Regions from separate parts of the Homo sapiens genome. Here region 2 is linked to region 1. The links are contacts of gene promoters, found by promoter capture Hi-C in blood cells and fetal thymus (Javierre and others, 2016). All regions are on one chromosome and are shown on one strand. Each heading gives the region's core, a stretch centred on a gene start or on the middle of the fragment in contact. The rest is flanking DNA. Distances are from core to core; before and after follow the strand shown. Region 1 holds the start of CDK11A (cyclin dependent kinase 11A). Region 2 holds the start of FNDC10 (fibronectin type III domain containing 10).

Region 1 (2,700 bases), core at 136-2,635:
ATAAAAAAAAAATTAGCCGGGCATGGTGGCAGGCGCCTGTAGTCACAGGTACTCAGGAGCCTAATGCGGGCGAATGGAGTGGAGGCGGGAGAATGGCGTGAATCCGGGTGGCGGAGCTTCCAGTGACCCGAGATCGCGCCACTGCACTCCAGCCTGGGCAACAGAGCGAGACTCCGTCTCAAAAAAATAAAAATAAAAAAAGAGCTTGGGTACACAAAGCAAGCAGCATTTCATTCCGGGATGAAAAGAATTCCGATACCCATCGCCCTTCTTGGGCCCTTGTCAGTTTCTTGCCACATCTTTCATTTTCCCATTTCAGGCCCAGTAAATGCGGATGTTTATCTTCCATTGTTTGTTTCCTGAGATTCAGATGTCTAAAGCATTTTTCTGTGACTTTTCAAGGCAAGAGGAAAACCTGACATATGGAAAGGGAATTAATTGCTCGTTTTATCCTCTTCTCCTGCAATGCTCTGAATCCATGGGTTTGGAGTGGGGCCCTGGGAGTTGGGGGAAGCACCATACCCAGTGAGTCTGCACTTTGAGGACCCACTGCCAGTGTCAGCTTCAAAATCACATTGTAAAAGGCCCGGCGCGGTGGCTCACGCCTGTAATCCCAGCACTTTAGGAGGACGAAGCAGGCGGATCACTTGAGGTCAGGAGTTCGAGACCAGCCTGGCCAATATGGCGAAACCTCGTCTCTACCAAAAATATAAAAATTAGCCGGGCGTGGTGGCGCGGGCCTGTGGTTCCAGCTACTCGGGAGGCTGAGGCAGGAAAATTCCTTGAACCCGGGAGGAGGCTGCAGTGAGCCAAGACCACGCCACTGCACTCCAACCTGGGCGGCAGAGCAAGGCTCCGACTCAAAAGTAAATACATGAATAAATAAAATAAAATCACATCGTAAGAGCTCTCCCTGCTTTGTTTCTGAGTAAGGTTCAGAGTTAAATTCCGAGATCGGCCTTTACAAGACACACAGACCTGAGGCGCCTCACGAGGTAACCAGCAGGTAAATGGAGCGCGCTCCACCCACCCGCCACTAGGGGTCCCAGCGGTCAAGGGGGTGGAATGCGGGCGTCCATCGCGAAGGCATTCTGCTCGCAAGCCTTGGCACAGGCGCGGGCTTCGCTACCGGAAAAGTCCCGGTAGGATTCCGGAAGCCGGCCACGCGTTCCGCGCAGGCGCAAACTGCTCCAAAAGTCGGCGTCGCTCTGCTCGGCGCCCCGGCCCGCGCCGAAGTCGGAAGTGCAGCTCACGGCGCAGTTTCTTTTGGAGTCCTGGACCTGAGCAAGCGCTGTTTTATGCGTCATCATCCCGCGCAGACACAGGAAGTGCCGCACAGAGCGAGCCCCTGTCGTCTTGAGTTCTGGGCCAGAGGTCGGCTATTATATCATCATTAGGCGTCAACACAGGAAGTGAGGATACTTCTGGCGAGCGCCGGTTGCTGTTTCTTCTCAGGCTCAGGGACCGGCCGCGGCCCCGTAGGGGTGAGTTCCGACTGGGCGGACCAGGTGTGGGAGCGCGACGAGAACTGCGCACCGAGGTCTTTCTTCCGAGCAGGCCTCGGAGCGGGGCGGACCCGGGCCCGGGGGCGAGCGACACCCTCGCTTCCGCGGACAGTCTCATCCCGCACGGAACTTTGGGTGGTGGAGGCGGCGGGTCCAAACGCTGTCTGGAGCCAACGTCTGCCAGGCTGAACCTCAAGTGTGCGGGACTGAACCCGAGGAAATAGCCCAGTGCCCGGGTCAGGTGGCCTTGTTCGCGAGCACATCTCGGAGCATCTCCCCGGTCTCAAGGTGCAGCTGTCCAGTGTGCTAGTGGCTTCACGTAGTCCAAGCGGTCTTTCTAGCAGATTCTGACAGTAAAAGCAGTGTTTGATGAGTGGCAGGTCCTGAGTTAAGAGCCTTTAAACGGATGATCTTTAATCCGCGATCGATACTATCACGTAGGTGTTGTTATTCTGGTTGTACGGAAGACTGAACTGAGGTGAATTACGTTACCCAAGACCATACAAGAATGACAGAAACGAGACTTGATTTCAAGCGGTCATTTTTCAGAACCCATCACTCTTTTTTGTCGCCCATGCTGCAGCGCAGTGGCTGTTCACAAGCGCACTTCAGCCTGGAACTCCTGGGCTCAATCGGTCTCCCATCTCAGCTTGCAGAGTATATGGGACTACAGGCGCTCGCCACCTTGCCTGGCTTACAACTTATCATTCTTGTTTTTTTTTTTTTTTTTTTTTTTTTTTTTTTTTTTGAGACGGGGTCTTGCTGGAGTGCAGTGACGCGACCTCGGCTCACCGGAACCTCCGCCTTTCGGATTCAAGCGATTCTGCTGCCTCGGCCTCCCGAGTAGCTGGGATTACAGGCACCCGCCACCACGCCCAGCTAAGTTTTGTATTTTTAGTGGAGACAGGGTTTTCGCCGTGTTGGCCAGGCTGGTCTTGACCTCCCGACCTTGTGATCCACCCGCCTCAGCCTAGAGCTTACCTTTTTTTTTTTTTTTTTTTAACCAAGTCTTACTTTGTTATCTAGGCTGGAGTGCAGTGGCGCAGTCTTGGCTCATTGCAGCCTTGACCTCTCTGATTCAAGTGATCCTCCTGCCTCTAGCAGCCTCCTTCCTGTAGCTAGGAATACAGGCACGCGCCACCACACTGGGCTAACTTTTGTATTTTTTGTAGAGACGAGGTTTTGCCATGTTGCC
Region 2 (2,700 bases), core at 31-2,530, 120 kb after region 1:
CGGAGGTGCACCGTGACCACAGTTGGTGGGGGCCTGACCGCTGGGCCGGGGCTCTGGCAGAGCCCCTGAGATCCTGTGGGGTCCTGACCACTGCACTGGGTTTTTCAAGATGACCAGGAATTCGTGAGGCTGGGTGGTGACTCCGTGGGGGGGCGGAGACATGGCCATCCAGAGGTCGGGGACCAAGGACACCGTGAGCAGAATAGCCAGTCTCTCCTCACTCTGCCCCCAGGCAAGGAGAGCACAGGAAGGGGTTGCAGGAACTCATGGTCCAGTTGCCAGAGAGCCCCCCACAACCCCTGCAGACCCAGAGCTGGCTCAGCGGAGGTGCCAGCCCAGCCTTAGGTGCGAGGCTTGGCCTCCTTTCCAGTTAGGGCAGGCCGGCCAGGCCCGGCCACGTCTGCATACACAGTCCCTGGCTGTAGTCCTGGCCCTGGAGGGGTGTCCTGGTTGCTGGGTGATCTATGCAGGGACGGGAATGAGGGGCAGGGGTCTTGGGGTGTGTCCCGCCTTCCCCTCCCCCGTCGGTGCCACCTACTCAGTGCACCGGGTGGGCTTTTTGGATTCCCTTTGTCCAGCCCTGACCTCCCCACAGCCATCGGGAGGGCCCCCCAGAGCGCATCTGGAGGAGGAGGGGGCGCAATGAGGCAGGGAAGGTCGGCGCCCTGCAGCTGCCTCCGCTGCGTGTGGAGCGAAGGGAGTTCTCACCTTGCGAAGTCTCATCTGTCAGGCTTTCCTCCGGGTGGGCGCTGTCCGTCCTGAAAGGAACAGAAGCCGCGGGGTGAAGGAAAGTCTCCGTGCTGGTCCCCACCCCATCGGTATGGGCAGGTACCCTGACTGCGCGGGTCCCCGCCGCGGGTCCAGGGCGGCCAGCGTTGGGGTGCAAGGCCCGGGGTCCTGCGCGTGCCAGACCGCTGCGCCCCCATCGTAAAGCACGAAGTCCCCGACTGGTGTGGCCACGGGCGGTCGCGGAGCTGCACGACGCGAAACGAAGCCGGCCACAGCCCGTGAGTTTCGGCTCGGAAAAGCCGCAGGGGTCCAAGGTGCGCTCACTAGGCGGGAAGCCGGGAGAGCGGCGGCCCTGCCCGCACCCCGCGCCCCTGCCCGCACCCCAGCCCCACCGGCACTCCGGCCGCCTCGCTGCGTCCCCCTCCTCCCCCCCACCCCCGATCCCCCGCACCCGTAGGCCGCGGCCCGGCGAGGGTTAAGGGGGGCGGGGCGAGGGGCGGCCCCGCCTCCGCCGCCGCGCCGGGTCCGAGCGCGCACGGGGCGCGGGGGCGGGTCGGAGCGGGCGGCGGCGGAGGGCGCGGCGCGCCGGGGATCGCGGGGAGCGGGCAGCGGGGACGGCGGCGGCGCGGCCCGCGTGACCCAGCGCCGCGCCCCGTGGCCCCGCCGCAGGATGCGCGCCCCGCCGCTGCTGCTGCTGCTGGCCGCCTGCGCGCCGCCGCCCTGCGCCGCGGCCGCCCCGACGCCGCCGGGCTGGGAGCCGACCCCCGACGCGCCCTGGTGCCCCTACAAGGTGCTGCCCGAGGGCCCCGAGGCGGGCGGCGGGCGCCTGTGCTTCCGCAGCCCCGCGCGCGGCTTCCGCTGCCAGGCTCCGGGCTGCGTGCTGCACGCCCCGGCCGGCCGCTCCCTGCGCGCCAGCGTCCTGCGCAACCGCAGCGTCCTCCTGCAGTGGCGCCTGGCCCCGGCCGCCGCGCGCCGCGTGCGCGCCTTCGCGCTCAACTGCTCGTGGCGCGGCGCCTACACGCGCTTCCCGTGCGAGCGCGTGCTCCTCGGGGCCTCCTGCCGCGACTACCTGCTGCCCGACGTGCACGACAGCGTCCTCTACCGCCTGTGCCTGCAGCCGCTGCCGCTGCGCGCTGGGCCCGCCGCCGCCGCGCCAGAGACCCCCGAGCCGGCCGAGTGCGTGGAGTTCACCGCCGAGCCGGCCGGCATGCAGGACATCGTGGTGGCCATGACGGCGGTGGGCGGCTCCATCTGCGTCATGCTGGTGGTCATCTGCCTGCTGGTGGCCTACATCACCGAGAACCTCATGCGCCCGGCCCTCGCGCGCCCCGGCCTGCGCAGACACCCCTGAAGCGCGAGGCCGCCCGCCCATCTTTGCGCCACCTGCCTGAGGGCGCCTGAGCTCCCAGGTCCTCCGCCCGCTCTCCTCTCCTCATTCCTGCTGCCTCCTTAAGATCCCCGCGGAGGAGGACCTGCCGGCGACGGCTCCGGCACTTTGGCATCATCACACGCCCTTTCCAGCCGGGCGTCAGACTCCCAGACTCTGGCCCCGGATTGGCCCCTGGGCTTGCGCTGCTGTGCCAGCCGCATCCAGGGCTCTCCCCGCTCTCCGCAGGCCTTTATAGAGGCGGCCAGGGCATGGAGCCCCTTCCAGCAAGAGCCATGGGCACTCCGGCTCACCCCGCACCTCCATCCTGTGCCGAATTGTCCCAGACAGACCGTCGCCATTGCTCGGTCACTGTGCTTTGCAGGCCTGGGGCGCAGCTCTCCAAGCCTGTCCTGCCCCGCCCCACCCCACTGGGCTTAGGTTAGCTTCGTGCCTTAGTATCTCGGGCCCACTGCAGGAGCCAACACCCTCTGCTGTCCAGGGGGGGTCTGTGGCCCTAAGATTGGCCGGCCTCTCCATGCATCTGGCCAGCGTCCCCTTGGAGACACCTTCACCCTCAAGCGCTGCAGAAGCATGAGGTGAGG

The links. The method cuts DNA at HindIII sites, captures the fragments that hold promoters and counts their contacts. A CHiCAGO score of 5 or more calls a contact.
Region 2: the fragment with the promoter of FNDC10 here is called in contact with the fragment with the promoter of CDK11A in region 1 in 17 of 17 cell types (activated CD4 T cells, monocytes, endothelial precursors and 14 more); the score reaches 10.2 in activated CD4 T cells.

The regions. Positions count from the first base shown.
Region 1 is chr1:1,723,042-1,725,741 of GRCh38, reverse strand. CDK11A (cyclin dependent kinase 11A) reads left to right here and starts at 1,385. Exons shown (of 20, transcript NM_024011.4): 1 at 1,385-1,484. RefSeq lists enhancers at 453-1,292, 1,273-1,502. The HindIII fragment of the contact is 24,282 bases long and covers 1-2,700 here.
Region 2 is chr1:1,598,715-1,601,414 of GRCh38, reverse strand. FNDC10 (fibronectin type III domain containing 10) reads left to right here and starts at 1,280. Exons shown (of 1, transcript NM_001242659.2): 1 at 1,280-2,700. The coding sequence starts at 1,400. The coding sequence ends at 2,080. LOC105378586 (a long non-coding RNA gene) reads right to left here and starts at 1,982. Exons shown (of 3, transcript NR_147951.1): 1 at 1,799-1,982; 2 at 709-758. RefSeq lists enhancers at 147-806, 807-1,466, 1,467-2,126, 2,127-2,700 and silencers at 1,204-1,253, 1,554-1,673. The HindIII fragment of the contact is 12,096 bases long and covers 1-2,700 here.